Linked DNA regions of Homo sapiens: regions 1 and 2 are each linked to region 3. The links are contacts of gene promoters, found by promoter capture Hi-C in blood cells and fetal thymus (Javierre and others, 2016). All regions are on one chromosome and are shown on one strand. Each heading gives the region's core, a stretch centred on a gene start or on the middle of the fragment in contact. The rest is flanking DNA. Distances are from core to core; before and after follow the strand shown. Region 1 overlaps UBE2C (ubiquitin conjugating enzyme E2 C). Region 2 overlaps DNTTIP1 (deoxynucleotidyltransferase terminal interacting protein 1). Region 3 holds the start of NEURL2 (neuralized E3 ubiquitin protein ligase 2).

Region 1 (3,161 bases), core at 560-3,059, 75 kb before region 3:
TGTGAGCATATATATATATATATATATATATATATAAAATTAAGGGGAAAGCTCACCCACTGACCTTTGCTATGCCCAAAAGTGTACTCCACATTCCAACAAATGTGTTTTCTCCCCAGATGTCTGGCGATAAAGGGATTTCTGCCTTCCCTGAATCAGACAACCTTTTCAAATGGGTAGGGACCATCCATGGAGCAGCTGGAACAGTAAGTGTAGGGCTGGGATGGGTGAGTGAGTCTGGGGAAAGGTGGGAAGTGAGATCCAAGTGCGAGCTCTGCTTCAAGCCTTTGGCGGAGCAAGACACTCCTCCTGTGACTGTTTACATTCTCTGAGCCATGTGGCCTTGTTCTTTCCCTCTGTGCAATAAAGGGTGGGTTTAAAGCAGGGCTGCCTATCTTAGATGTTTACATGGGGGGACAGACAGCAAGGAAATGGATGAAGTGAGGACTTTGGCCAATAGGGCCAGATCTCAAGAAGGCAGCTTCCCATTGCTGCAGATCAGGTTTAAGATGAGTCAGAAGTCCAAATCTGTGCCAAATCTAATTTTTACGTATTAGCAACTAATATTCTTTTTTTTTTTTTTTTGAGACGGAGTCTCGCTCTGTCGCCCAGGCCAGACTGCGGACTGCAGTGGCGCAATCTCGGCTCACTGCAAGCTCCGCTTCCCGGGTTCACGCCATTCTCCTGCCTCAGCCTCCGAGTAGCTGGGACTACAGGCGCCCGCCACCACGCCCGGCTAATTTTTTGTATTTTTAGTAGAGACGGGGTTTCACCTTGTTAGCCAGGATGGTCTCGATCTCCTGACCTCAAGATCCACCCGCCTCGGCCTCCCAAAGTGCTGGGATTACAGGCGTGAGCCACCACGCCCGGCCAGCAACTAATATTCTAATTGAACTAAAGCACAGGATGCCAATTTACAATCCTTAGACCAAAGAGTCACTGATGTCTCCACCAGATAAGAGGAAAGCATCAGGCTAGGCATAGTGGCTCACACCTGTAATCTCAGCACTTTGGGAGGCTGAGGCAGGCAGATCACATGAGCCCAGGAGTTTGAGACTGGCCTGGGCAACATGGTGAAACCCTGTCTCTAAAATAAAAACTAAACTAAAAAAACTTTTTAAAAAGGCAGTGGGGAGCATCAGAACCAGCTCAACAGTTTGTCTACTGTCCGGTCCCAGAGAAACTCAAGATTCTAGCAAGCCCCTTGTGTGGGGCTTGGGTTGGGACATGAGGCTGCTGCTGGAGCTTACTCTGCAACTGTTTCTCCAAATGCCAGGTATATGAAGACCTGAGGTATAAGCTCTCGCTAGAGTTCCCCAGTGGCTACCCTTACAATGCGCCCACAGTGAAGTTCCTCACGCCCTGCTATCACCCCAACGTGGACACCCAGGGTAACATATGCCTGGACATCCTGAAGGAAAAGTGGTCTGCCCTGTATGATGTCAGGACCATTCTGCTCTCCATCCAGAGCCTTCTAGGAGGTGACTTTAGAGACCACCCCTCCCCTCCATGCAACTTGGGAACCTGTCAGGACTCCCTGGGGTCAGCCTCTTCTACCGCCTTGACCTTCTCTTTCTCTCCACCCACAGAACCCAACATTGATAGTCCCTTGAACACACATGCTGCCGAGCTCTGGAAAAACCCCACAGGTGAGTCCTCAGTCCTTGAGCCCAGGGTGATCCCTCCCCCAACCTTCAAAGGCTCCCTCAAACAAAAGGAGCCCAGTGACTTGGGACCGGGTTGGTTGGGGCAGGGTGGAGTGTCGGCAGCAACCCACTTCTGTTTCTGCCCCAGTGCTCCTATTTGCTATAAAATAGCAATTGTTTTATAGCAGAATAAAAATGTTTGGCGATAAATAATTTTGGGAAATTATTGGTGAGACCAAGGCAGGAGGATAGCTTGAGGCCAGGAATTCAGTAGAGTGCCTTGCCTGTGCCCTCCAGTCTCACTGGAAGCAAGCCCTTCCAGGAGAGCTGCCTAGATGGGCAGTGCAGGGAGAATGCCGGGCTGGGAAACCAGCCCCTCCTCCACCTCCTCCGACCTTTGCATCCCTGGTCCAGCTGCCTCTTGCCCACCTTAATTCATCCTGGGCCAGGCACAGTGGCTCATGCCTGTAATCCTAGCACTTGGGGAGGCCGAGGTGGGTGGATCACATGAGGTCAGGAGTTTGAGACCAGCCTGGCCAACATGGTGAAACCCCGTCTCTACTAAATACAAAAAAAATTAACCGGGTATGGTGGTAGGCACCTGTAGTCCCAGCTACTCAGGAGGCTGAGGCAAGAGAATCACTTGAATCTAGGAAGCAGAGGTTGCAGTGAGCAGACATCATGCTATTGCACTCCAGCTTGGTCAACAGAGTGAGACTCCATCTCAAAAATAATAAATAGTAAAGATTAACTCATCCTGTCTCCATCACTCACTGAGACCTGCCTGTTCTCTTCCAGCTTTTAAGAAGTACCTGCAAGAAACCTACTCAAAGCAGGTCACCAGCCAGGAGCCCTGACCCAGGCTGCCCAGCCTGTCCTTGTGTCGTCTTTTTAATTTTTCCTTAGATGGTCTGTCCTTTTTGTGATTTCTGTATAGGACTCTTTATCTTGAGCTGTGGTATTTTTGTTTTGTTTTTGTCTTTTAAATTAAGCCTCGGTTGAGCCCTTGTATATTAAATAAATGCATTTTTGTCCTTTTTTAGACAAGTTGTTGCGTTGTAATTTCACTAGGGTTGGAGGTACTCAGGGTAGGCAGAGGTGGAACTTAAGGATGTGGGGCCAAGCAATGGGGTGACAAAGATTTATTCCCTTGTACCTTATTTTATGACTCTGCATCTGTTTCTTCATCTATAAAATGAGTGTCACAATAATGCCTCCTGTCTATGGAGTCGGTGATGTGTACCAGCAATGTTAGTGAATGTTGGAGCTCCCTCAGCTGTGTTGCAGATGAGGCTGAGCCAGACCTTAGGCTGAAACCTACTCCTATAGCTGTAGAAGGAACAAGCGTGTGTGTTGGGGGGGGGATCCCAACACACAGCCACCCATGTTCTGTCCTGAAGAAGAATGCTTAGGTCACCCTAAGCAGGTCCAGGGCCTGGGGAGACAGCCAGGAAAAAAGCCCCTTCCCTGGCAGGACTCAGGTCTGAGCTCTGGTCTCCAGGCTCTAGCCCAGGT
Region 2 (3,502 bases), core at 395-2,894, 92 kb before region 3:
TCCAATCCACTCTTCTCACAGCAGCCAGACTGATCTCCGTAAAGATGAATTAGATCATGTCACTCCCCATTTTAAAAACCCTTCAGTGACTTTCCTGTTGCAGGGAGAATAAAGTCTTAATGCCTTACCATGATCCTGCTGGGAAAACTGGCTAGCCATATGTAGAAAGCCGAAACTGGATCCCTTCCTTACACCTTATACAAAAATTAATTCAAGATGGATTAAAGACTTAAATGTTAGACCTAAAACCATAAAAACCCTAGAAGAAAACCTAGGCAATACCATTCAGGACATAGGCATGGGCAAGGACTTCATGACTAAAACACCAAAAGGAATGGCAACAAAAGCCAAAATTGACAAATGGGATCTAATTAAACTAAAGAGCTTCTGCACAGCAAAAGAAATGACCATCAGAGTGAACAGGCAACCTACAGAATGGGAGAAAATTTTTGCAATCTACTCATCTGACAAAGGGCTAATACCCAGAATCTACAATGAACTCTAACAAATTTACAAGAAAAAAACAAGCAACCCCATCAACAAGTGGCCAAAGGACATGAACAGACACTCCTCAAAAGAAGACATTTATGCAGCCAAAAGACACATGAAAAAATGCTCATCATCACTGGCCATCAGAGAAATGCAAATCAAAACCACAATGAGATACCATCTTACACCAGTTAGAATGGTGATCATTAAAAAGTCAGGAAACAACAGGTGCTGGAGAGGATGTGGAGAAATAGGAACACTTTTACACTGTTGGTGGGACCGTAAACTAGTTCAACCATTGTGGAAGTCAGTGTGGCGATTCCTCAGGGATCTAGAACTAGAAATACCATTTGACCCAGCCATCCCATTACTGGGTATATACCCAAAGGAATATAAATCATGCTGCTATAAAGACACATGCACACATATGTTTATTGTGGCACTATTCACAATAGCAAAGACTTGGAACCAACCCAAATGTCCAACAATGATAGACTGGATTAAGAAAATGTGGCACATATATACCATGGAATACTATGCAGCCATAAAAAGTGATGAGTTCATGTCCTTTTTAGGGACATGGATGAAGCTGGAAACCATCATTCTCAGCAAACTATCACAAGGACAAAAAACCAAACACCGCATGTTCTCACTCATGGGTGGGAATTGAACAATGAGAACACATGGACACAGGAAAGGGAACATCAGACACCGGGGCCTGTCGTGGGGTTGGGGGAGGGGGGAGGGATAGCATTAGGAGATATACCTAATGTTAAATGACGAGTTACTGGGTGCAGCACACCAACAAGGCACATGTATACATATGTAACAAACCTGCATGTTGTGCACATGTACCCTAAAACTTAAAGTATAATTTAAAAAAAAATGCCTTACCATGACCCACAGAGCCTACCCTCGACTGGCTTCTGCCTGCTTCTTTAACTTCATTTCATCTCACCTCTTTTTTATTGACTATACTCTGGCTGTTCTGAACTCCTTTCTGCTCCTCCAGCACAAGCTTAGGCCATTTCACTTGCTGTTCTTAGTACCTGGGGTACTCTACCCTTAACTCTATAAAGCCGGCTCCTTCTTTTCTTCAGATCTTAGTTTAAATATCAGAGAGGTCTTCCCCTCGCACTCCTACCTCTGCTAAAATCTTGAGCTTTACAAGAGTTGAGGCCTAATCTTGTTCACCACTGTATTCCCAGCCCTGGAATATGACTCTTAGTATGTGTACAGAGTTTGCTGAATTATTGAGTAAATGAAGGAACAAACAAATGATAAATGAACAAACAAGCTTCCTGCTCTAATAGAACTTAACAGCCTACTTAAGCAGACAGGTGTGAATTAGATTACCAACAAATGTGTGCATAATTACACATTGAGACTTGATCACCCTTCACTGGAAAGGGACAAAGTTTGGAGGAGAAGAGCATGAATCCAATTATGGATTAGCAGCTTTGAGCCATCCAAGCATAGACATGGGGCAGACTATTTGGTATATAAGTCTAGAGCTCAGAGGATAACCTTTTGTCTACAGTTGAATTATGGAATCGTGGTTTATAGATGTTAATTGAAGCTGTGAGAATAGGTGAGAGCAGATAGAATATGTAATGAGAGAGGATAGGGAAAAGAACCAGATTGAGAAGGAAAAGCCAGCAAAGAAGGCTAAGAAAGAACGGCCAGAGAAGTAGAAGGAACACAGGAAGTGTGGCCACAGGAGCCTGTAGAAAAGAGTGTTTCCAGAAGGGGGAGCCCTCAGCACTGTCAAATGCCACTGGCAGAGGTCGGGTGAACCCAATTCTCCACCTGCTGCACCATCTCCCCTCTGCCCATTCCATCCTTTTCTTTGTCAAATGAGCCAGGTGTTCCCACCTTTGAGCTTCTGCACTCCTCCCTGCTGCTGAAACACTTCTGCCCAGCTTTTTTTACAGCCTCCTTCACATCTCAACTCAGAGGCCACCTTCTGAGCAAGGCCTTCCCTGGCCATTCCCGCAAAGTAGCCCTTCCCCTCTGGTGGTTCTCTGTCACATCTGCCTGGGTTTTTTTCTTTTTTTCTCACAGCATCTATCATGATCCACAGTTACCTTGTTTGTTTCTGTGCTTATTATCCAGATCACCCACAAACTATAAGCTCCACAAGAGCTTGTCCTAGTTACTGCTGTGTCCACAGCACTTAGGTCCCAGGTACTCAGTATTTATTAAAAGAAAAACAGCAGGCCAGGCGCACTGGCTCACGCCTGTAATCCCAACACTTTGGGAGGCTGAGGCGGGCAGATCACGAGGTCAGAAGTGTGAGACTAGCCTAGCCAACGTGATAAAACCCCATCTCTACTAAAAATACCAAAAAAAAAAAAAAAAAAAATTAGCTGGGTGTGGTTGCACGCCTGTAATCCCAGCTACTCAGGAGGCAGAGGCAGGAGAATTGCTTGAACCTGGGAGGCGGAGATTGCAGACAGCCGAGATCGCACCACTGTACTCCAGTCTGGGCAACAGAGCAAGATTCCATGTCAAAAAAAAAAAGAAAAAAGAAAAACAGCAGCTTACTGAGGAGTATGTGTTATACTAATGTATTTAGTTTGAAAAAACATACAGTATGTATTTACATGGGAAAAGCAAGGAAGAATTTACATTGAAACATTAATAGTAGTTTATGTAATGAGATTCCAGGTTTTTCTTATTTTGCTTTTTTACATTTTTTAATTTTTCCAGCCATGATCATTAATTCAAGTTTTTTTAAAAATAGATATCTATTTCTATGCATATAAATATATATATGTGTGTGGCTGGGCGTGGTGGCTCATGCCTGTAATCGCAGCACTTTGGGAGGCCAAGGCAGGTGGATCACCTGAGGTTAAGAGTTCGAGACCAGCCTGGCCAACATGGTGAAACCCCGTTTCTAATAAAAATACAAAAATTAGCTGGGCATGGTGGTGGGCACCTGTAATCTCAGCTGCCTGGGAGGCTGAGGCAGGAGAATCGCTTGAACCCAGGAGGCGGAGGTTGCAGTGAG
Region 3 (3,331 bases), core at 832-3,331:
GGGTAGTGTCTGATTTGCCTGTGCAACTGAAGCCTCCAGCACAGGCCTGGCACAAAGAGGGTTCTGGTGCATTGAGTTCATGAAATGTGATGAGAGGTATAACTGCAATGCTTACCAGGGCTATAATGAATCATACTCAGCATTAAGAAGCTCTCAGTCTGGGGTTTGTTATGCCTCGAAGCCAATAGCCAATATGCCCAAGTCTATGAGCATGTTTCTTTCTTTTCTTTCTTTTTTTTTTTTTATTTAAAGAGAGAGGGTCTTGCTCTGTCACCCAGGCTGAAGTGCAGTGCTCAGTGAACTGCAGCCTTCAATTCTTGGGCTCAAGCGATCCTCCTGCCTTAGCCTCCCAAATAGCTGGGACTACAGGCATGCACCACCATGCCCAGATAATTATTTAATTTTTTGTACAGATGGGGTCTCACTTTGTTGCCCAGGCTTGAGCTAGCTAGCTTGCTTGCTTGCTTGCTTTCTCTCTCTTCCTCTCTCTCTCTCTTTCTTTTTTTTTTCAGAGTCTTGCTCTGTTGCCTAGGCTGGAGTGCACTGGTGAGATCTCGGCTCATTGCAACCTCCACCTCTCGGGTTCAAGTGACTCTCCTGCCTCAGCCTTCTGAATAGCTGGGATTATTGGCACATGCCACCACACCCAGCTACTTTTTGTATTTTTAGTAGAGACAGGCTTTCACCATGTTGGCCAGGCTGGTCTCGAACTCCTGGCCTCAAGTGATCTGCCTGCCTCCCCCTCCCAAAGTGCTGGGATTACAGGTGTGAGCCACTGTGCCCGGCCAAGCATGTTTCTAAGAAAAGGGCAAACAATTCTCAAAGAGGCCCCTAATATCTAAAATTGGTTTAGAATCCCTGCCCTAGGTGAATACAGGAAACACTATCAAAACTAAAAGGGAACTTGTAGGGCATCTTAATCAATCAACCAAGATAGGTACCAAGGCCCAAAACCATGTAGAGGCTTGTGCAAGATCACAAGCAGAGGTGCAATTTGAAGCTAGATTCTCCCACTCTTAAACTAGTGCCGGACAGACGAAGGCCTAGCACATGGGCTACGGAGCCCTAGTAGATTCCAGTCCCCACACTGAGCCAGGAGGGGTCGCTGCCCAGGGATACCTACAGCCATACTCGAGCTGGACAAGGCGCACGCTCTTTGTGGAAGCAAACACGTCCACCACCGCGTAGAGGGGCTGCGCAGCTGGCAGTCCCCGGGCGCTCGGGCCCATGTCCTCGCCGTTGATGATGATGTGCATGTCGGCCGTGCCATCGGGGCGCGGGCAAAAGAGGACACCCAGGCGGCTACGGCGCGCGGTCGGAGGCAGCACGTTCAGCTCATAGAGCTGGTCCAAGAGATGGCTGTAGAGCCCTGGCCGGCTGCGGCCCACCAGGCGGTCCCGGGGAATGCGAAACTGCTCAATGCGCAGATATGGTTCCACGAGGAGGGTTGGAGGTCGGCTGGGGGCCGCTGCCTCCGCCTCCGGGCGGCCCTCCCGGGGCACGCGGTTGTGGTGGCGCGTGATGGCGAAGACCCAGGTGTGGCCCAGGTTGACCAGATCGGGCAGAGAAAACTCGGGAACGGGGGCCAGACTGGCGGGGTCCAGCGCGGTCAGACCGAGACGCAGATGTCCGCACCAGCCCAGCTCTTTCTCCTCGATCTCGACCAGGAAGACCTGGCCCGGGGCCAGCGGCTCGCGGCTGAAGCACACGCCGTGGGCGAAGCTCTCCACGCGTGTGGCCCGCGTCCCAGAGGGGTCCACGCGGATGTTGGCACCGTGCACCCGATGGAAGCGGGTGGGAGGGGGCTCCGGGCGCTCGAGTCCCCAGAGTGCACCCGAATCCACGGGCTCGGAGGCAGCAGCCATCTCTCGGCCATAGGGCAGGCCAGCTGGCGCCGGGGGCTATTTTGGGCGGCGGGCAATGATGGTGACCGCAAGGCGACCTTGTAAGGCATTTCCCCCCTGACTCCCTTCCCCGAGCCTCTGCCCGGGGGTCCTAGCGCCGCTTTCTCAGCCATCCCGCCTACAACTTAGCCGTCCACAACAGGATCATCTGATCGCGTGCGCCCGGGCTACGATCTGCGAGGCCCGCGGACCTTGACCCGGCATTGACCGCCACCGCCCCCCAGGTCCGTAGGGACCAAAGAAGGGGCGGGAGGAAGACTGTCACGTGGCGCCGGAGTTCACGTGACTCGTACACATGACTTCCAGTCCCCGGGCGCCTCCTGGAGAGCAAGGACGCGGGGGAGCAGAGGTGAGCTGGCACCGGAGGCTGGAGGGGATCCCCGAGCCCGGGATCGGTGCGCGGCAGAGGAGGCTCGCGGGTGGGAGCTGGCGCTGGGGCCGGGGCTTCCCTCGCGGAGGCGCCGCCAGCAACTCCCCGGGGGCTGCTGCACGGAAGCGCTGAGGAGCGAGTCAACAGCCCCTCTGCTGCCTCCCGTAGATGATCCGAGCCGCGCCGCCGCCGCTGTTCCTGCTGCTGCTGCTGCTGCTGCTGCTAGTGTCCTGGGCGTCCCGAGGCGAGGCAGCCCCCGACCAGGACGAGATCCAGCGCCTCCCCGGGCTGGCCAAGCAGCCGTCTTTCCGCCAGTACTCCGGCTACCTCAAAGGCTCCGGCTCCAAGCACCTCCACTACTGGTCTGCCGCCCTGCCTTCTGGGCGGGATTGGGAGAAGAGATGACGGATGAGGGATGGGGGGTAGTTCTGCAGACCCCTGAGGATGCCTGGGAGCCGGGAGGGCTGGAAAGGGCCCCTCCAACTGCGCCAACCCTGCCCTGACCCCCCTCCCAGGTTTGTGGAGTCCCAGAAGGATCCCGAGAACAGCCCTGTGGTGCTTTGGCTCAATGGGGGTCCCGGCTGCAGCTCACTAGATGGGCTCCTCACAGAGCATGGCCCCTTCCTGGTGAGTGGACAGCAGGGGGAAAGCACAGTTCCCAAAGTAAAAGGCTGGGGAAAGCGAGAGAGGGGCTTTGTGATTTTCCAAAAAGTTTCCTTCCTTCTAAGCCTCGGGATTTTCCTCTATGCCATTGGCTTTGCTGCCTGTACCTCTCAGAGGTTTTACCCACATGTAAAGTGCCTCTCATGGTGGCCCTTTCCCTCCACCCAGCTGGCCCTTGGGACTTACTCAGCCATCTCTTTCCTCCTCAGGTCCAGCCAGATGGTGTCACCCTGGAGTACAACCCCTATTCTTGGAATCTGGTATAGCTGGAGCTGTGGGTGTGTCTGGGCACTTGGATGGGGTGGCATTTAGCTAATTTTTCCCTCCCCTCTAGATTGCCAATGTGTTATACCTGGAGTCCCCAGCTGGGGTGGGCTTCTCCTACTCCGATGAC

Evidence for each region. Contacts are between HindIII fragments. The CHiCAGO score rates a contact against its expected background, and 5 or more counts as called.
Region 1: a fragment that was not itself captured here is called in contact with the fragment with the promoter of NEURL2 in region 3 in 2 of 17 cell types (erythroblasts and megakaryocytes); the score reaches 10.1 in erythroblasts.
Region 2: a fragment that was not itself captured here is called in contact with the fragment with the promoter of NEURL2 in region 3 in 14 of 17 cell types (megakaryocytes, erythroblasts, naive CD4 T cells and 11 more); the score reaches 23.9 in megakaryocytes.

What each region holds. Positions count from the first base shown.
Region 1 is chr20:45,814,265-45,817,425 of GRCh38, forward strand. UBE2C (ubiquitin conjugating enzyme E2 C) reads left to right here. Exons shown (of 6, transcript NM_007019.4): 3 at 120-206; 4 at 1,277-1,481; 5 at 1,590-1,649; 6 at 2,445-2,688. The coding sequence ends at 2,503. Among named protein-coding and RNA genes, the nearest start is that of UBE2C, 3.2 kb to the left of the region's middle. The HindIII fragment of the contact is 4,695 bases long and covers 1-3,161 here.
Region 2 is chr20:45,797,119-45,800,620 of GRCh38, forward strand. All of the region lies in intron 4 of DNTTIP1 (deoxynucleotidyltransferase terminal interacting protein 1), which reads left to right. Among named protein-coding and RNA genes, the nearest start is that of DNTTIP1, 6.9 kb to the left of the region's middle. The HindIII fragment of the contact is 279 bases long and covers 1,506-1,784 here.
Region 3 is chr20:45,889,127-45,892,457 of GRCh38, forward strand. NEURL2 (neuralized E3 ubiquitin protein ligase 2) reads right to left here and starts at 2,082. Exons shown (of 2, transcript NM_080749.4): 1 at 1,124-2,082. The coding sequence starts at 1,865. CTSA (cathepsin A) reads left to right here and starts at 2,209. Exons shown (of 15, transcript NM_000308.4): 1 at 2,209-2,253; 2 at 2,443-2,636; 3 at 2,790-2,901; 4 at 3,147-3,197; 5 at 3,272-3,331. The coding sequence starts at 2,443. It also overlaps a transcript of SPATA25 not described here. RefSeq lists enhancers at 1,547-2,256, 2,496-2,545 and a silencer at 2,186-2,455. The HindIII fragment of the contact is 4,274 bases long and covers 1-3,331 here.